Linked DNA regions of Homo sapiens: regions 1, 2, 3, 4, 6 and 7 are each linked to region 5. The links are contacts of gene promoters, found by promoter capture Hi-C in human tissues and cell types (Jung and others, 2019). All regions are on one chromosome and are shown on one strand. Each heading gives the region's core, a stretch centred on a gene start or on the middle of the fragment in contact. The rest is flanking DNA. Distances are from core to core; before and after follow the strand shown. Region 1 overlaps CFAP298-TCP10L (CFAP298-TCP10L readthrough). Region 2 overlaps SYNJ1 (synaptojanin 1). Region 3 holds the start of LOC124905010 (a long non-coding RNA gene). Region 4 overlaps SYNJ1 (synaptojanin 1). Region 5 holds the start of DONSON (DNA replication fork stabilization factor DONSON). Region 6 overlaps PAXBP1 (PAX3 and PAX7 binding protein 1). Region 7 holds the start of LOC124905011 (a long non-coding RNA gene).

Region 1 (2,735 bases), core at 1-2,500, 980 kb after region 5:
CTCTTCCCTAAATTCCACACTCGCACTCTCTCTCAGTTCATTTACCCCCTGACTCAGACAGAGGGGATTGAGGTATTTCAGAAGAGGCTTTGTATTTGACAGCTCTTTCTCCCTCTCTCCTTTTTATTTTTATAGCTCCAAATGAGAAGATGAAGCAAGTGTTAAAGAAGACTATAGAAGAAGCCAAAGCAATAATATCTAAGGTTGGCTTTTTTAAATGATGCACTAAAACTTGTTGGGTTTTTTTTTTTTTTTTTGGAGATGGAATTTTGCTTTTGTTGCCCAGGCTGGAGTGCAATGGTGCGATCTCGGCTCACCACAACCTCCACCTCCTGGGTTCAAGCAATTCTCCTGCCTCAGCCTCCCGAGTAGCTGGGATTACAGGCATGCACCACCATGCCGAGCTAATTTTGTATTTTTAGTAGAGACGGGGTTTCTCCATGTTGGTCAGGCTGGTCTCGAACTCCTGACCTCAGGTGATCCGCCTGTCTTGGCCTCCCAAAGTGCTGGGATTACAGGCATGAGCCACCGCGCCCGGCCTAAAACTTGTCTTTTGAGATAAAACTCCAACTCTGGCTTCCAGAGTTGCCTCTCAGCCAGCCTTCTCTTTCAGCCTTCCGGAGGCAAAGGAAACAAGCGTATTTGGGGTAGGCTGTAGCTTTTCCTTTCATAATCCTGACGGTTGCCCAGAGGCCTCTCCGTTCCTCCAGGCAGACACAAATTTTTGTTGGCTTATGTAAATATAGGTTCACGTATAATACAAATATGTATAATACAAATGTTGATTTCATTTCTTTTACCTTTTTGAAGAACTTAACAAAGTTAAGTAGGGGAGATTTGAATATTGTGGCCATCGAGTAGCTCTCCAGACACTTGATTGACTTAATATGTATTTGATATAAATGGTTTTTTGTAATTGTCTTCAGCATTTTATACAAAGGCTAGTTTATAGAGGGAGGAGCGTAAATTTATACCATTGATATACAGATAATGTGTATCTGGAGGAAGAGAATTTAAGGCTATTGAAAGAAGTGGTATCTGTATCTGTTGCTTGTATTTGTGTGTTGGTGATATTAGTTGCTACCGCTCTCAACTGCAAGTCTCTTGACTGATCACCACTTTTTCTTCTGCTTCTCCTGGTTTGCTCAGCAGAACTGTTATTTTTAAACCAATATTTCTCAAACTTACCAAGCTTTTGACTAATCTTTGAAGAGCCTCAGCAAAGGCTGCCCTGAAGCTCTGTGCCTGTTAATATAGGAAAGGCTTTATGAAGCTCTACAGGAGAGGCCCTGGTTGAGCCCGTCGTTTGCGTGGTGATGGCATCTAGGCATGTGAGCACGTCTCAGGCCATGGCAAGAAAACAGTGGTCTGGCTGTTGTTCTGCACCCTTCTCCCCACACTTTGCTGTGGAACTCCTCTCTCGGTCGCCTCACTTCTCCCCTTTGCCTGTGTACTTCTGAAAGTACTTTTTATCCTTGGTCTTCTTCCTCTCTCAGTATCTTATCTACTCTGCCAAATGCAAATTCCACCCTCTGCAGATAACTCTGAAGCTTCCATCCTTTCCCCCTGACATCTTGCTTCACTTCCAACCTGAATTTCCAGCTGGTTGTGAGATGGTTCTATCTGAACACCCAGTCAGCACTTTGAAGTCCAGTTTTCTAGAAATGAGCTCTTTGCTTCCTCACTCCTCTCCCTCTCTGTTCTGTCCCTGAGAATCAGCACCTCCTATGAGCTTCTCTGTTTCCAGTAACAGAACCACAGTGTCTTGGTTTTATAGGGCAAATCCTCAGTGTCATCTTCAACACTTCTCCCTTCTGTCACCTCTAGGTTTGAAGTGGGGTTCTGTACCGTCTGCTCCCATGATGCCTCTTAAGTCCACCTCTTCCTTTCACTTCCACAGCTGTGGCTTTCTTTAAGGCTCTCCTGTAGCCTTTTGCATTCTGATGCCCACTGGGGGTCCTGCCAGTCAATTCAATTCCGTTCTGACACTAACTACTCAGAGACAGCACAGACCCCACAGGTCAAGGGCAGATCCTTCAATTCTGACACTAACTGCCTGGAGTTAGCATCAGACCTAAAAGTTAAAGGGTGAGATCACCAACAAGACTCCTCTTATTTCAGACACCAGCTGCACGTGAGGTCCCCAGGCCACCCATACTTGTGTCCAGCTTGACTACAAATTTGGAGCTTCCCACAACGCCCCCACTGATGTGTGTCACCCGGCACATCAACGTCTTCACCAATCAGGAAGCTTCACTGAGCCATGATGTCTGGGATTTTTATAGCGTTTTTGTTCAGTAGGCATGATGGCTTAAACCACTGGCCACGTGTTTGATCCCAACCTCTAGCGCCTGGAGGTGGAGGAAGGGAGTGAGGCCGAAAGCTCCAACCCTCTAATTATGTGCTTGGTCTCCCAGGCACGGCCAGCCCCTTCCTTGAAACCCAGCGCGGACTACAGGTTACTGTATTAGCACAAGCTCAGGTATGGTGAGAAGGGGCTCGTTATAAATAACAAGACACTCCTGTCACTCAGGAAATTCCAAGAGTTTTGGAGCTCTGTGCCTGGAACTGAGTAGCAAAGACCAGATATATTTGTTATTTCATCACACCTTCCTCTGTACTCTTCAGAGCCTGCTACCTGGTCTCCCTCCAACTAGGTCTGTTCTTTTTTTTGAGGCAGAGTCTTATTCTGTTGCCCAAGCTGGAGTGCAGTGGCACGATTTTGGCTTACTCCA
Region 2 (2,700 bases), core at 122-2,621, 880 kb after region 5:
CTCCATTATAGTACTTACTATAATTTATAATTTTGCATTTGTATGGTTATATAATTCCTGTCTTCCTAATCTGATTCCTAAGAAGGTGTCACGGTACTGACTGTTTTTATTCCTAGAACCTTGCCAGGGGCCTGGTGCATGGTAGGCATTCAATAAATACTTCTTGCGTGAATGAAAGTTTTTTTTTTTTCCTTAAATGTCACCAAGATTGGAATGTGAAGTTTAAATAGGACATTAATTTAGATAGTTTAATATCTTTCAGCTGGAATTTTAATTACTTTTGTAAGAGAAACCTTTTCCTTTTAAAATAATTTTTCTCTTTATATATGATGAAATGGAAAGAAGCTTTACTGCCAGCTAGTTATGTGATCTTGGATGAATGATCTAATCTCTACTCTTTTTCTTCTGAAAATGAGAAGCTTGGATTACATGATCTCTAGGATCCTCATACAGGAGGTTCTCTGGTTCTATACCAAAGTGCTGTCTGCATGCAAATAAGCTCACCACAAACTGCAGTGCATGCAACCACAGGCAAATTGTGGTTCTAGAGAGATCATTCTAACATGCAGTCTTATTTTTACATTGTTATTGACCTTCTTTAGCTTAGTCTTCTGTATCAGCTGGGGAAGAACAGTGTATTCTCAGACTGCAAGGTTTGACCCACAGCAGAATGTTGACATTGGATAGTAGGCCCTTCATTTGGATGGCTTTATTATTTAGCTTAAATTATTATAATCCATCAGAAGTTGGAGAAATTTACATTTAAATTTAATCCTGAAAATACTTTTAAAGTAAAATGAAAGTGACATTTAAGTTACCTATTGCTCTTGGATAAGAAGTTAATTTTGTTTCTTTTCTGTTCAGATGTGGAGTTAGCAATGCAGGTGTGATTATCATGCGACAACTATGTTATGTTTAACAAGCCTCTCTTTTAGAGCCACAACTCATGAAAATCAAGAAATAGGTATATGATTATGTCTTCATCTGAATTTTTATATTTGATCCTAATACTTCATTATTTGCCTTAAATTCTAATTTGAGAAACGAGGTTGTAATACAACAATGCTGAATAATGCCAGTTATGTCACATGACATAGTATTATAAGTCATTGCTGGGCGCGGTGGCTCACACCTGTAATCCCAGCACTCTGGGAGGCTGAGGTGGGCAGATCATGAGGTCAAGAGATCGAGACCATCCTGGCCAACATGGTGAAACCCGTTTCTACTAAAAATACAAAAATTAGCTGGGCATGGTGGCGCGCGCCTGTAGTCCCAGCTACTCTGGAGGCTGAGGCAGAAGAATCGCTTGAACACAGGAGGTGGAGGTTGCAGTGAGCCAAGATCACACCACTGCACTCCAGCCTGGCGACAGAACGAGACTCCATCTCAAAAAAAAAAAAAAGTAAGTCACTCCAGAAAAAAGAAAAAGGTGGAGGATGTCAAATAATATGATAGAGCACAATTGATATGTTAAATTTTGATAGAGAACAATTGATATATTTATACTCTGAGTGTTTTCTGTAGTCTATAAATAGACCACCTCTACCGTTTCTATTTTTGTCACCTTCCAGTAGCTTAACGAGGAAAAGTTGTAGGTTGGGGCTCCCTTCAGTCATGCATGAATTTGTTCAGTTAAAAGAAGTTTGAAAACATGCACAAAACTAAAATAAGGAAGGAGTTGAGTTATCTGAATTAAGTTGTAGGATATTACTACCTCATGGCTTTATATAGTTTTAAATATTTCCTAACTTCTGTGATAATGAGCAAAAACAAACTTATTATTTTCCAAGTATAGTTTCCATTTCAACAGTTAGAATATTAAAACTAAATTATTTAGGAAGAATATAAGGAAAACATTGATGGCAGGGTATAACAATATTTACCCTTCCTAAGGCCTCCATTCTGGAATTACTAAATCTTTTCCTTTCTTAATTTATTATATATTTACTATTTGATGAGTGTTTGAGAGCCTTGGGAAGTGTGGGCTATGGGGCCATTCTAAAGATTGTAGGACTTACAAGTCCCTTTGAAGTTTATAAAAGTCCAAATCAATCAGGTGCAATGGCTCACACTTATAATCCCAGCACTTTGGGAGGTTGAGGCGGGAGAATCGCTTGAGCCCAGGGGTTTCAGGTTACAGTGAGCTATGATCATGCCACTGCACTCAGGCTTGGGTGAGAGTGAGAGATCCTGTTTGGGAAAAAAAAAAAAGTTCAAATGTCTGTTAAACTTTTGGCTAATGCACTCCTGGTCTAGGGTAATTAGAGAAAAGTTCTTCTCTGATCCCTTAGAATTCCAGTAGCTTCTGGCTGTCTCAAGATAATTGGCCAGAGTTATCTCTCTCCTTTCTGAATTTATCCAATAGTTCAAAGAATGTAATAATTTTTTTAACATTTTATTTGGAGAAATAGTGTAACTGTTACATATGTCACCTAGCCTCCATAATATCAACTCATGGACACTTTTGTTTTTCTATATTTCTACCTACTATCTCTCCCTCCTTATTTATTTATTTATTTATGTTTTTATTTATTTATTTTGAGAAGGCATCTTGTTCTGTCACTCAGGCTGGAGTACAATGATGTAATCTCGGCTCACTGCAACCTCAACCTCCTGGGTTCGAGCTTTTATGCCTTAGCCTTCCAAGTAGCTGGGATTACAGGTGTCTGCAACCATGCCCGGCTAATTTTTGTATTTTTT
Region 3 (2,700 bases), core at 149-2,648, 840 kb after region 5:
TTTAAAAATAGTAGGGTCTGGTCAGGCACGGTGGCTCTCGCCTGTAATCCCAGCACTTTGAGAGGCCGAGGCGGAGTTTGAGACCAGCTTGGCCAACATGGCAAAACCCCGTCTCTAAAAATACAAAAATTAGCTGGTGGCGGGTGCCTGTAATCCCAGCTACTCAGGAGGAGGCTGAGGCGGGAGAATCGCTTGAACCTGGGCGGCGGAGGTTGCAGTGAACTGAGGTTGTGCCATTGCACTCCATTCTGGGCGACAAGAGCAAGACTCCGTCTCAATAAATAAATAGATAGATAGATAGTAAGGTCTGATAATTAGGATATTCTGAAGTAAGAGCTAAATTTTGGTTTTGTTTTTCCTGTTGCTGATTTTGGTGACACATCTCTGTTGATATCAGTAAATATCAATTGATAAGTAAAAAAATATGCAAGTCTTAACTTGGATGTCTTTCATCTTGCATGTGCTCACCTCCCTCCCCTCTCACCCAGTCGTTTGGGTTGTTTGCCTCCCCTTACTGTCATATCTTCATAGTGTGGAACTAAAACGTAGAAATGAGGGAAGTATAGTGGACAGATGTTTCCCCCACCCCTTCTTTTACCTAGGCAAGAGATTAGGGGAGTCTTTTTTGATTAAAGAGAGTAGGTCCAAAATAAAGACCCTGAAACACTAAAATCTGGGGATCCCCAACAAAAGAACTGGCTCAGTACCTAGTGATCCGACGGAGACACCTCTGTTAGACAGCTCCTGCCCACACACACAGCTTCCAGTCTTGCTCTTCTATATGAACAGGCAGTTAACGATGATCATAAGGACCAACCTGAGCAGCAGAACCAAAGGGACTGAGGAAACAGACAGTGCTGGTACAAGTATGCAAGTTTTCTGTAAACAGATTACTTTCAAACAGTTGGGAGCCCCAGGGAGATAATAGAAGGTATCCTACTCAACAGGAGTATATAGAATGCTGTAGAAGAGGAATATTGTAAGAACAAGAACTATCTCTTGAAAACTAAAAATATGATAACTGAAATATAAATTTAAATAGGATTGGAAGCTAAAGCTAGGAAATTACCCTAGAATGTTTTTTGAGAAATGGAAAATACGAAGACCAAAAAAATAAAATAAAACTATGCTGTGAAAGAGAAAGATTAGCATTTGAGAAGGCGGAAGTTGGTCCTGCTCAGATGCGGTTTTCAGATGCCTTATTCTAAAAATAGTGATAGAAAACAAATTTCTACAAAGCAAAATTACAATAAATTTATTAAACTCTTGCAACAAAGCTGTTTTCTTATGTCTTCCTATGTTTTCCTGCTGTCATTCAATGTGATGCTGAAGTTCTTCCTCCTTAAAAATGTAATATTTTTCCCTTTGCACAGGTAATTTAGAGTTTTAATTTATTTGGTCATCATGATAGCTATTCCTGATAGCTGTCCTGTTACTTAGACATAAAAATAGTGAGTAAGCCCAATTACATATTTGTAGGGTTGTTGAACTCTTAAAAAGAAATCACTTCTTTAATTTTTCTACTTTTTAAAATGGGAACGCAGAATAATAATGAAATTTGTTCTAAACCAAAAACCTACCTGGTTTACCAGTTATTGCAGAATCTTGCCGTTGAGATTAGCAAGCAGTCTGTCGTAATGGCTTATTCTGTGCAAACTCTTTCCTCAAGATTGTTGAAAGATGGCTTTTAATTTTAACTGTTGTTGTTTTGCAGACAAAGCTCTGATGGCACCAAATCTTGACTCCTTTGGACGCGATCGGGCACTGTATCAAGAGCATGCAAAACGTCGCATTGCAGAGCGGGAGGCCAGGAGGTAATTCTCAAAACCCTTGCTCTGGCTTGTTTGGGAAGGGAGGAGTCTCTGTTATCTAGTTTGGGAACTTGATGTTTATTATTTAGGACTCGTCGTAGACAAGCCAGAGAACAAACCGGTAAGATGGCAGATCACCTTGAAGGCCTTTCCAGTGATGATGAAGAAACTTCTACAGATATTACTAATTTCAATCTGGAAAAAGGTTAGACATTTATTTGGAAATAAGACTCATCATCAGTTTAGTTTCTACTTGGGTATGGTTTTTACCATGAAATGATTTGAATCTTCATGGTCTCTGCATTAGAACCAGACACTTCTTTTTTAATTGCAGAAATTTGCATGCCTTTTTATTAGTGAATATCATGATGAATTCTCAAAAATAGGGGTAACATCTTCTCATAGGGTGTACTTAGTATTTGCATAATAAATGTTGTTACTGTTCCAAATGGTAGAATTTTAAGTGACTGGAAATGTGTCAGGTCCTTGAGGGCAGCTCTCATTGCAGCCTGTCTGGTCTGGAAAGGTAAAGCTTGGCAGTAGAGCACTCAGCCCTGAAGGAAACTCTTGATTTGGGGAGTCATAAGTAATCTCACCTTAGAGGAATGGTTAGTACTATTATGTGCCAGGCATTTTCAGAAGGATCCCAAATAAAAGTCTTCATTTCCCACCATTGGCTATAATTGTTTGGAATTATATCAATTGCACACCATTTGGAACTTAGTTGGAGAAGCTTCTTTCTCTTACTTTTTTTACAGTGAACATTTCTAAACAAAATTTGAAAGACTAGCACAGTGATCATCCACATACCTATCACTCAGATAACAATGCTTATGATTTCACCAAGTTTGCCTGGCTCTTTATACAAGGAGATGTGTGTGTTTGCTGA
Region 4 (2,713 bases), core at 105-2,604, 900 kb after region 5:
AAGACATGAAAACTGGATTTTTTTCACCTTATGCACCGTTGCAGTACTATGCAAAATAAATGTTAATCAGTAAACAAAAATGCTAAGTTTTGAACTTGTATGGAGTGATAGGCAATTAATCTGGGATTACTCCAAAGAAAAAGTATCAACTTGTGAGTTTTCTGCAGTCTAAAATGCTTAATGTCCTGGGACATACGTCTTTCAAATTTTAAACTTTTATGAATATTATTAAGTACCATAAAATGAAATTGAACACAGATGTGACATTAGGCTAATTGATTTCTTATTTAAAAATTAAAGAGAGAATCCCCTGGTTATCAGAATACTCATTAGATTATCTGACTTAGTGCAGTGAGGGATAATGCTTAATGAATGATAATACTGTACTGTTAATTCAGTTTTGGAATTGGATGAGCATATTAGAGTTTATTTTCTGGTTTTACTTGTCCAATTACATGACTGATTTGACAACCCCCCTTTTACACCCTCTTTAAAAGCACTTTGCGCGGGGCGCGGTGGCTCATGCCTGTAATCCCAGCACTTTGGGAGGCTGAGGCGGGCAGATCACAAGGTCAAGAGATTGAGACCATCCTGGCCAACATGGCGAAACCCTGTCTCTACTAAAAATACAAAAATTAGCTGGGCGTGGTGGCGGGCGCCTGTAGTCCCAGCCACTCGGGAGGCTGAGGCAGGAGAATCGCCTGAACCCGGGAGGCAGAGGTTGCAGTGAGCCGAGATCACGCCAATGCACTCCAGCCTGGCAACAGAGTGAGACTCCGTCCCCCACAAAAAAAAGCACTTTGTTCACAGGTTAGCAAGAATGAATTTTGGGCAACTTTTTTGCCCCCCCTCAGTGATCCTTGTTGTGATTGGGCAACCTTCATTCCAACGTCTCAGAGAGAAATGTTTAAATTGAAGTTCAGGGAAATAATCTGGTCTCACCTATATATTTCTTCTTGGCATGTTATATCTTTCTCAATTATGCCTCATCTCTCTGCTATTCTCCTGTGTAAGAAAAGAAAAATTATAACAATATACAATAGGTAGATATTTTCCATCTTGTTTAATTTGCTTAACCCAAAATTCCTGATTCTGCAAAATGTGCAAATACTATAATTGGGTGATGGCAAGGTTGACTTGGAAAGTCTGCTTTTCCAGGAAGGAATGATATTCTCAATTTGGTGGAACTTTGGTGTGAATAGAATATTCAACATAGTAGAGAAGAAAACACATAGACATTTGTATTGGTAGGCAGCTTGGAGGAGTAGGAATTTAGGTCAGAGACATAAAGTCTCATCTGAATCTCTTTTGGAATTGGTTATGTTGATCTCAGATAGCAAGTTATTTTACCTGTTGGTATTTTGGTTTTTTTAATTACCCAAATGGTAATAGTATCTGTTACACAGGGCATGTAGTTTGAACTTAAAACAAAGTACCATATATGAAAACACCTTTAAAAATAGTTTTCATCAATAAAAATTCCTACTAGTTTACGAGTATTTCATAATGATGTAACTTCTTTTTTTGATGAGGTTGGTTTTTTAAAAATAAAGGTGGAGGGTGGAAATTCCCTGGAACTTGTTTTTTTAAAAGCATATCATGAATGGAAATCAGTTATTTGATTAACGACTGTGTGTTCAGCAAAGAAATTGTTAGATATTGTAAGCAGTGATATTTCTTTCGTCTATATGTTGGTTTTTGGTTTGATTAAATATATTTTTCTTGTCTAAGGTGGGATCTCATCGTGTCCGTATGTCAAGGGGATTTGAAGCCAATGCACCTGCTTTTGACAGGTAAGACAATTTTTACATAGTGCTTTAAGTTTTGATATTGCTAAGCAGTGGGACTGCTTGTATTTACTGATTCACTTCAAACTTTTTTGGCTTTAAATAAAATTCCTCTGACTCCTAATTTAATTGAAAGACAGTGACACCTAGTGTTACGACTTCTGGGGGTGGTAGTGCTGGAAGTGTGGGTCTTGATCTCTTGACCTTAAAACTTCCTCTGTGGGCGCATTGTCCAGTATAGCAGCCACTAGCCACATGTAGCTACTGGGCACTTGAAATGTGACTAGTCTCAGTTGAGATGTGCTGCAAGTATAAAATGCACACTAGATTTCAAAGACTGCCTTAAAAAATAAAAAAGAATGTAAGGTATCTCATTAGTAAAATCATGTTCGGTATACTCAGAGTATTGGTTCTACCCTCACATACCAAAATCTGTGCATACTCAAGTCCCACAGTCGGCCATGTGGAACCCATGCTTATGAAAAGTCATCATTCATATTCATGGGTTTTGCATGCCAGGAATACTGTAGTTTTGATTCTTCTTTGGTTGAAAAAAATCCATATATAAGTGGACTTGCACAGTTCAAACCTGTGTTGTTGAAAGGTTAACTGTAGTTGTTTTATATTGATTACATGTTGAAATGATATTTTAGACATGTTGAGTTAAAGAAAGTATAATTAATTTCATGTTTATAAATGCACCTTCTTGAAAATTTAACATTATAGGTGTGGTTTATGTTACATTTCTTTGTGTGGCATTGCTCTACATAGTTTCTGGAATGGTTAGAAGCTGGAAAGAGAAAAGACTCGTATTTGGGGCCCATTTTTCTGAAGACTGGAGCTAGTAAGGAGGTCCCTCTGAATACTCAACGGAGTAGGTGATGTCCTCACATGTGAGCAGCAGCCCTTTGCCATCTGCCCTTACT
Region 5 (2,700 bases), core at 168-2,667:
GGTTGCAGTGAGCTGAGATCGTGCCACTGCACTCCAGCCTGGATGAGAGAGCCAGACTCTGTCTCAAAAAATTAATTAATACACTAATAGATTTGAGCACTAGCATTTGTCATATACCACCCTGTTTGTTCTACTTATCTTTAACTAGACCTGACATTTCTAATTTCATTCCTTCTCAGACCTCAGTTGGATGAACCCATTCCACTGTATGAGGCAAAAGTTTCCATGGAAGCTGTTCAGAAAAATCAAGGAAGAAAAAAGCAAGTTGTTCAATTTTAATTTTCTTCTTTCTCAGACCTCAGTCGGATGAACATATTCCAGTATTTGAAGCCAGAATTTTCTTTGGAAATTGTTGAGAAAAACCAAGGAAGATAAAACAAGTTGCATTTTTAAGCACGTTTCTCTGCTAAGACAAGATGCTCAGTTGACACATTTGAAAAGTGTTTGAAAAATTCTTGTGCAAATGATCAAGATAATTCTATAATTAACATCTTAAGGGAATTTTTCTAAAAACCTTTTCATTGTTTCTATATATTTTGCCCCTGCTATAAAATTCCTTCCATGAAGAAAACTGCTGCTTTCAGCAAAAGTCACACTACTCTTGATAAAAGCTGTTGCAGGCCTTTGCTAAGCTATCAAAGTAACGTATTAATTTTGTATCAACTCCGTTCTCAACACCTTCCTTAAGTCTTTGCTGTCATAATTTAAGCATTTGAGTATATTTTGAAGTCTTAAAAGACTTAGCCCATAGGCACTTAAATTTTGTGTTTTCAACTATTCATTCACTCCGGCTTTCCCCAGGATCAAAGAAGATCCCATTAACTTGCCAGTGGCAGCTGCCTGGAAGTCTGAGATGACCAGGCACTGGGAACGGGGAAGGGAGGGATGTCGGTAGGCTGCGCTGGCATAGGAAGCGTGCTGACGTCTTATCTGAGTTCTCTGGGGGTTGAGGAAGGTGGCCTAGTCCCCTCTCCTCGCCTCTTGAGAGCAGTAGCCACTGCCCTCTCTTAAGTTTATGGAAGCAGCAGCCCATCGCCGCAGCTCAAGTTTGTTTCCTTTTCATCCAGGCGCCAAACCCCGGGCTGATCACATCCCTGCTGCGGGCTTAAATAGAGTTAAGCTATTTCGGTGCCCCACAGGGTAGTGCACATCAGCGCCCTGGATCGCATACTTTCCAGAAGCGTCGCTGAACCTGGCGACTGGACTCTGGCCGAGGACCTGGCAGAAGCGCCAGGGCAGGGTCACCGCTGGGACAGTGGGCGTTGACGGCCACCCGGGATCGCCGCTGCGGGCTGCGTCTCGCGGGCTGCCCACTGCGCATGCTCCGCTCGGAACCGGCGGGGGCGGAGGCGGGGCCGCGTCGGGGGCGGGAGCTCGGCGAGGCGCCACGTCAGGGGCGGGCCCGGCGCGCGCGGGAAGTCTCTGTAGGGCGGCCGGCTACCCTCAGCCGCCGCGCGTCATGGCCCTTTCGGTGCCCGGCTACTCACCGGGCTTCCGAAAGCCGCCCGAGGTAGTGCGGCTCCGACGGAAAAGGGCCCGGAGCCGTGGAGCTGCCGCCTCCCCGCCCCGTGAGCTGACGGAGCCGGCGGCCCGCCGAGCCGCCCTGGTGGCGGGGCTGCCTCTTCGCCCTTTCCCTGCTGCGGGGGGCAGAGGCGGTGGCAGCGGCGGCGGCCCGGCCGCTGCTCGGAGGAACCCCTTCGCCCGCCTGGACAACCGACCGCGGGTCGCCGCGGAGCCCCCCGACGGGCCGGCCCGCGAGCAGCCGGAGGCCCCGGTCCCGGTGAGTGTCTTGTAGCCTGGCCGCCAAGGGGCTCTTGTCTTTCGTGGGTTGAGCCAGCTGTGAATGGGGGATGGAAAGTCCTCGCGTTCGAGGCAAGGAAATGGGCGCGAAGACTTCGGCCGCCCGTGGCCTTAGGGTACCCCGCCCTGGGAGCCGCGATTCTGGCAAGGCCGGGTTTGTGGGAAGAGCGCTCCCCTGGCTACCCCGCTGCGGGCTGTGCTCACGGGACGCGTTCCCGAGGAAAGTGAGGGGGCCCCAGAGGGCAGCGAGGAGCCCCTTGGAGAGGACTTAGAGGTGACTTGGAAAAGAGCTCGAAAAACCCTGAGAGCCCCCATCTTGCAAGGACGCTGTTCGATGGGGCAGGTGACAAGCCCTGCTTCCCCCGTGATTTAGGGCCTCCCTTCTCTCACGCACTCCAAATTATTCTGGAGATGGGGGAATGTCGAGGATTCGTGGGGTCAGAATTCACTAGCATCTGTCTTACCCAAAGCCTTTTGGATCTTTCGGTTTGAAACGCCGGTCCCTGTTCCCCTCAATTTTGATACTAAAGTTCAGACACAAAACTGAAGTGTTGAAACTCATAGATTGGATGGGGTGCCTCTGAATTTAGGTGTACTTGCGTTTATTGAGAAACATGTATGCCAGGTGAGGCTCTGTACATATTTAACGCAAACTTCAGCATCCTTTAAATTTTAAAGGAGAATATATTTAACCTCAGTTTTTAGATTCTAATCAAGAAAATGATTTGCTATGGGAAGAGAAGTTTCCTGAAAGAACAACTGTTACTGAATTACCTCAGGTAATACTTTTTAAATATCATTAGAATGTGTATTTGTATAAACTTTTTTTTCATAGGATTTGAGCCTATTTTTAAAAATACATTTATACTTCTCAGAAGCATTTTGCTTGGAAAGTAGTTT
Region 6 (2,700 bases), core at 110-2,609, 850 kb after region 5:
TGAAATCAGTAGCAAATTTTCTCTTAGATATACTAATTAATGAGATGCTGCTATATTTTTTTCTTTTAGGGAAAACATAAAACAGATAGTAAAACTCCTTGCAAGTGTTCGAGCTTTGGATCATGCTATGTCTGTTGCAAGTGACCACAATGTGAAAGAATTTAAGTCTTTGATCGAAGGAAAATAGATCTATGAGACTGAAAAACCTATTTGCTTGATTACCATTCCCAATGTGTAAATTTTGTATATATGTAAAGTTTCTTAAACTGTAAAATAGCAATTCTTGTTTTAATACAAAAAACATTATATTCAATACTGTGTCCTTAAATGATATTTCTTCAGAATGAAAGGAATTCAGATTATTTCTAGGAGTCTATGAATGTTTTCTTTACTGCCTGTCATACTTTGTTTACTGAAGTATTTTGTATGGTCATTTAAATTAACCCTCTCAGTTAATTGTCCCCTGTAAACGATGTGTGCAGTGTAAATTGTGTAATTATGCATATATATATTTATACCACCATGGACTTACTTTCACACTGGAAATTTGTGGTGTTTTTCCACAGAGGAAGCCTTTTAACAGCAGAAAATTATCCGGTAGCAAATTGTCTTAGGGAAATTACTACACTGTTGTAACAAAAGGGCTGGCAAGTGACTAAATGTTCATTACCTTTTGGTTAGCGTTGCTATCACTGTAGCTGTGCTGCCTTAACATTGAGAGTTGAGTTGTGGACTTAGTCATTGAGTGAATGTTGAACTTTCTTCCTTGAATCAGCGTTAGAGTCAAATGTGGGTTTAATGTGAATGCTAAATGAATATGCAACATAGTTTCAAATGGAACATAGAAATTTCACTTTTGAAAATAATAAACCCACAACCTAATTGCATGGTTTTGGGCTGACCGTCCTGTCTCATTCATGATTTTACTCCCTGCCCAGCTTGCAGATACATGCATTTGAATTTTAGTAGTCTGTCATATTTAAAATCCCACATATGTGAGTTAAATATGCAATAAAGAATACGCCTTGCTGATTAGCCACACCCAGGCAATTTAATATCCATGGTCTTCTATAATGTTTATACCACATTGTAAATATTCAGAGAACTTGTTTTAAAGTTTATGCTTTCTGATTCTGTGATTTTCAAAAGAGGAATTTTTTTGGAAATTAAGGACTATCGTTTGATAATTATATATGTAATTAAGATTTAGCCAAGCATTAAATTAATTTTTAAATATATCCTTTGTTGTATTTTCCTGACGACTAAATTTGCAGCATTTCAAATGACTCTAATAAAGTGGGACTGTGAGCAGGCCCATGTGTACCCTTGATCAGGACATAATATGCAGAACAGTGTCATGCACTGTATTTGCTCTGTTAATTTTATCTTATCCCTACATATTTGTATTAGTTCATTCTCACGCTGTTATAGGGACATACTTGAGACTAGGTAATTTATAAAGAGGTTTAATTGACTCACAGTTCCGCATGGGTGGGAAGGCCTCAGGAAACTTACAATCTTGACGAAAGGCACGTCTTCACAGGGTGGCTGCAGAGAGAAATGAGTGCTGAGGGAAGGGGGAAGTCCCTTATGAAGCCATGAGATTTCATGAGAACTCAGGAGAACAGCATGGCGGAAACCACCCCCCATGATTCAGTTATCTCCACCTGGTCCCGCCCTTGATGTGGGGATTATTACAATTCAAGGTGAGATTTGGGTGGGGACACAGAACCAAACCAAATCAGTATTCATTCTGGATGAATTTTTCATTACACCTTACTGGCCTACTAAGTAGAATTAAAGTCAGAACACCTATTCCTCATCTTAAGTAGAATAAAACATAAAACATGTATCTGTATCACATACAGATCATTTAGGCCTTAAACTGCATATTATTTCCAAACCCATTAGACTAATTACTCTGCTTTTAAGAACTCTTAAAATAGAGTTTTTATCCTATGAAATCTGTCAGGCTATATTGGTTTCAGGAATGGGTTTGAACATCACACTAGGAATTTGATGTAGGGTACATAAAACAATGGTTTTTCTATCCCAAGCAGAACATTTTTATTCCTGAAATAGCTTAAGGACATTATTTCTTATGAAAGGAATTATCAAAAGATAAATCCAGAGGGTTACATTTTAATAAAGCTGGTTTTGCTTTTCAGTTTTTTCTTTTGGAGCAATCCTCTGAATTAACTCCAAAATAGGTGACAAATGTTTTTGAGAAGGAAAGCTACTTTATTGAAACAACATAAACCACAGTCAAGAGTGACTAGTACTACTGTAGCCAATGATGTCGAAGTCTCACCATGTCCCTGTTCTTGCCACTGGTGTCCTCTTGCAAGTATTTGCTCCTCTGCCTGAGGGCTTTTCTTTGGCCTGTGCAACAGGCTGGAGTGTCCTGGAGATACTTCCTGGAACAGATCTCAGCCAAGGGAGAAAAGGAATTGGAGGCTAAATGCCCCAGTGTGTCAGTTAGGGTCCTCCTGGGAGCAGACACTGAGATGGTATTAAATGTACAGGAAGTTTATTGGGGGAATGCGTATAAGAGAAAACGGAGGGGAGCCTGGAGGAGGCTGGGAAAGCTGTCAGACAATGAGGCAGGCAGGTCTCACCTGTGTGAAGGAAGGAGGATGAAAGTCTTAGACATTGGTGCAGTTCTAAAGTTTCAGCAGGGCCAACTGGCAGCTCTGACAG
Region 7 (2,700 bases), core at 185-2,684, 930 kb after region 5:
ACACGGCTGTGGTGGATCCAGGCTGGGATTCCTTCTCCTTTACAGCCGTGGGGGTGGTCAGGATGATGGTGTGAGGTCTTTTCCACTGTGGCCGCAAAGGGACTACGTTCCAGTCCTTGATCCACATGCGATCACTTGGAGAGAAAGGGTGAACTGGGGAGAATAAGCTGACGGGACACCTCTCATTTACCCAAGTTGAGATTGTTTGTGTAATTTTTCCCAAAGCCCGTAGCTGTCACTGTAACTCAATTTCACCTAACTCTCGGGGAGTGCCTGGAAGTCCCCCTAGTATAGGAGGAGGCCTATGATACAGTATTTCATAAGGGGAGTATCCTGTTAGAAGGGATGCATCTAATTTTAAACAATACCATAGGAAGGGCCTGTATCCATTTTAATCCTGTTTCCTGACATACTTTCCCTAAACTATTTTTGATAGTCTGATTCATTCGCTCCACCTTTCCAGAACTCTGAGGTCAGTAGGCGGCATGTAGTTTCCAAGTGATTCCTAATGCCTTTGCTGTCTTCTGTACCAAGTCAGCCACAAACACCGGCCCGTTATGTGAGCCAATTCGTAAGGGCAGTCCAAACCTAGGAATAAGATCTCGGAGAAGCACACGGGTTACTTCGTAGGCCTTTTCAGTTTGTGTTGGATAAGCCTCCACCCACCCAGAGTAAGTACACACAAGAACCAGCAAATACTTGTTACCTTCACATTTTGGCATTTCTGTGAAATCCACCTGAAGACCCTCAAAAGGAGCCGCTCCATAAGCTTGTATGCTGGGTGGAACCGTGGGGCCTTGCCTCACATTGCGCTGTCAGCAAGTAACACACCATTGTGCTACTGCTTTGGCAAGGGCTGGCAAGTGTGAGATGTAGAAGTACCGGCCTAACAACTTTTCAAGTGACTCTTGACCTAGAAGAGTGGTTTCATGCATGGCCAGTACGACTGTGGCTCTCAGCAACTGTGGCACAGCTACCTTCCCATCTGGCAGTCTGATCCATCCTTCTTTTATTACTTGCCCCACTTCTGTGTGGAAAAAGTCTTTTTCTTCCTTAGAATAGGTAGGTACCAGGTCAGGTGTTTGAGGGAGTAAGGGGGCTGCTACTGATGCACAGTAAGGGGTAGATGCTGCTTTTCGAGCTTCTGAGTCAGTTTGGGAGTTTCCTAAGGCCACTGAGGTGGAGGCTCGCTGGTGTCCCCTGCAGTGCATGACTGCCACCTTCTGAGGTTTCCACACTGCCTCTAATAATTGTAGAATTTCTTGTTGATATTTTATGTCCTTTCCCCTAGAGTTTAACAGGCCCTTTTCCTTATATAATGCTCCATGCACTTGGAGGGTTAGAAAGGCATATCAAGAGTCAGTGTAGATGTTTACAGTCTTACCTTCACTGAGTTCTAGAGCCCGAGTTAAAGCAATGAGCTCAGCCTTCTGGGCTGAAGTGCCCTGTGGCAATGGTTTGGCTTCAATGACAGCGTTCAAAGTTACCACCGCATATCCTGCACATCTTTCTCCATGTGGATTGATGAAGTTGCTCCCGTCCATGTATAACTCCCAGTCTGCTGATGCCCATGGCTGGTCCCGAAGGTCAGGTCTGCTAGAATAAACTGAGTCCAACATGTCTACACAGTTATGCTTGACCAGGCTCTCTGATACTGGGAGCAGGGTGGCGGGATTTAGGGTGTTACAGACGTCAGTGATTATGCGGGGATTTTCACATAGCAAGCTTTGGTACTTGGTTAATCTAGCATTTGTTAGCCAATGATGTCCTTTGGTATTCATCAAAGTTACCACAGTATGGAAGGCCTTTATATTCAGGTTTTGCCCAAGGGTTAGTTTATCTGCTTCTTGTGCTAACAGGGCCATTGCTGCCAGGGCCCTTAGACATGGGGGCCAGCCTTTGGAAACCCCATCTAGTTGTTTTGAGAGATAGGCCACTGGCCTTGGCCAGAGCCGCACAGTCTGGGTTAAAACTCCAACTGCCATTTTTTATCTTTCTGACACATAGAGTGTAAAGGGGTTTGTCAAATCTGGTAGTCCTAGGGCTGGGGCCAACATAAGTTTTTCCTTTAACTCATGGGGGCCTGCCATGCGCTGCTGTGGTGAGGCGTTCGACCGGGGCAATTACCTACCCGGAAGTGCTCTCAGGATCCGCATTGCTCAAGCTGGCCGGAGTCCCCCACAGGGATGTGCCACAGGGCAGGCCTAAGCCACCTAAGGGGCTGCCTTGACCATCCGTTAATCACCTCACTTCCCGGTCGGGGAACCAAGAAATGTAGCAGGACGAGCCTCAGACAAGAACCCCTCAGACACCGAGTTGTAGAAGGAAAGGGCTTTATTCAGCTGGGAGCATCGGCAGACTTGCGTCTCCAAAAACTGAGCTCCCCGAGTGAGCAATTCCTGTCCCTTTTAAGGGCTTACAACTCCAAGGGGGTCCGCGTGATAGGGTCATGATCAATTGAGCAAGCAGGGGGTATGTGACTGGGGGCTGCATGCACCAGTAATCAGAACAGAACAGGACAGGGATTTTCATGATGCTTTTCCATACAGGCCTGAAATCTATAGGTAACACAAACAGTTAGGTCAGGGGTTGATTTTTAACCACCAGGCCCAGGGCGCAGTGCTGGGCTATCTGCTTGTGGCTTCCATTTCTGCCTTTTAGTTTTTACTTCTTCTTTCTTTGGAGGCAGAAATTGGGCAT

The links. The method cuts DNA at HindIII sites, captures the fragments that hold promoters and counts their contacts. A contact is called where the count stands out against the background at its distance.
Region 1: a fragment that was not itself captured here is called in contact with the fragment with the promoter of DONSON in region 5 in 1 of the 25 tissues and cell types used here (dorsolateral prefrontal cortex).
Region 2: a contact is called between a fragment that was not itself captured here and the fragment with the promoter of DONSON in region 5, in 1 of the 25 tissues and cell types used here (hippocampus).
Region 3: a contact is called between a fragment that was not itself captured here and the fragment with the promoter of DONSON in region 5, in 2 of the 25 tissues and cell types used here (dorsolateral prefrontal cortex and spleen).
Region 4: a fragment that was not itself captured here is called in contact with the fragment with the promoter of DONSON in region 5 in 2 of the 25 tissues and cell types used here (lymphoblastoid cells and spleen).
Region 6: a contact is called between a fragment that was not itself captured here and the fragment with the promoter of DONSON in region 5, in 2 of the 25 tissues and cell types used here (dorsolateral prefrontal cortex and spleen).
Region 7: a fragment that was not itself captured here is called in contact with the fragment with the promoter of DONSON in region 5 in 2 of the 25 tissues and cell types used here (dorsolateral prefrontal cortex and spleen).

The regions. Positions count from the first base shown.
Region 1 is chr21:32,605,117-32,607,851 of GRCh38, reverse strand. CFAP298-TCP10L (CFAP298-TCP10L readthrough) reads left to right here. Exons shown (of 12, transcript NR_146639.2): 3 at 136-203. CFAP298 (cilia and flagella associated protein 298) reads left to right here. Exons shown (of 7, transcript NM_021254.4): 3 at 136-203. Among named protein-coding and RNA genes, the nearest start is that of CFAP298, 5.9 kb to the left of the region's middle. The HindIII fragment of the contact is 4,387 bases long and covers 1-2,735 here.
Region 2 is chr21:32,710,040-32,712,739 of GRCh38, reverse strand. The region is part of intron 2 of SYNJ1 (synaptojanin 1); the gene reads left to right. Among named protein-coding and RNA genes, the nearest start is that of SYNJ1, 17 kb to the left of the region's middle. The HindIII fragment of the contact is 3,764 bases long and covers 1-2,700 here.
Region 3 is chr21:32,750,233-32,752,932 of GRCh38, reverse strand. PAXBP1 (PAX3 and PAX7 binding protein 1) reads left to right here. Exons shown (of 18, transcript NM_016631.4): 9 at 1,715-1,814; 10 at 1,901-2,016. LOC124905010 (a long non-coding RNA gene) reads right to left here and starts at 1,679. Exons shown (of 2, transcript XR_007067844.1): 1 at 1,581-1,679; 2 at 1-817. The HindIII fragment of the contact is 4,263 bases long and covers 1-2,700 here.
Region 4 is chr21:32,687,386-32,690,098 of GRCh38, reverse strand. It overlaps SYNJ1 (synaptojanin 1), which reads left to right. Exons shown (of 33, transcript NM_203446.3): 7 at 1,732-1,793. Among named protein-coding and RNA genes, the nearest start is that of SYNJ1, 39 kb to the left of the region's middle. The HindIII fragment of the contact is 4,811 bases long and covers 1-2,713 here.
Region 5 is chr21:33,587,401-33,590,100 of GRCh38, reverse strand. It overlaps DONSON (DNA replication fork stabilization factor DONSON), which reads left to right and starts at 1,417. Exons shown (of 10, transcript NM_017613.4): 1 at 1,417-1,780; 2 at 2,499-2,579. The coding sequence starts at 1,460. CRYZL1 (crystallin zeta like 1) reads left to right here. Exons shown (of 13, transcript NM_145858.3): 13 at 180-760. The coding sequence ends at 279. RefSeq lists an enhancer at 1,229-1,728 and a silencer at 1,187-1,876. The HindIII fragment of the contact is 19,336 bases long and covers 1-2,700 here.
Region 6 is chr21:32,732,437-32,735,136 of GRCh38, reverse strand. PAXBP1 (PAX3 and PAX7 binding protein 1) reads left to right here. Exons shown (of 18, transcript NM_016631.4): 18 at 70-1,238. The coding sequence ends at 187. It overlaps PAXBP1-AS1 (PAXBP1 antisense RNA 1), which reads right to left. Exons shown (of 4, transcript NR_038879.1): 2 at 1,480-1,548. Among named protein-coding and RNA genes, the nearest start is that of PAXBP1-AS1, 5.7 kb to the right of the region's middle. The HindIII fragment of the contact is 7,980 bases long and covers 1-2,700 here.
Region 7 is chr21:32,659,400-32,662,099 of GRCh38, reverse strand. The region is part of intron 18 of SYNJ1 (synaptojanin 1); the gene reads left to right. LOC124905011 (a long non-coding RNA gene) reads right to left here and starts at 872. Exons shown (of 2, transcript XR_007067845.1): 1 at 707-872; 2 at 1-601. RefSeq lists a silencer at 689-878. The HindIII fragment of the contact is 4,160 bases long and covers 1-2,700 here.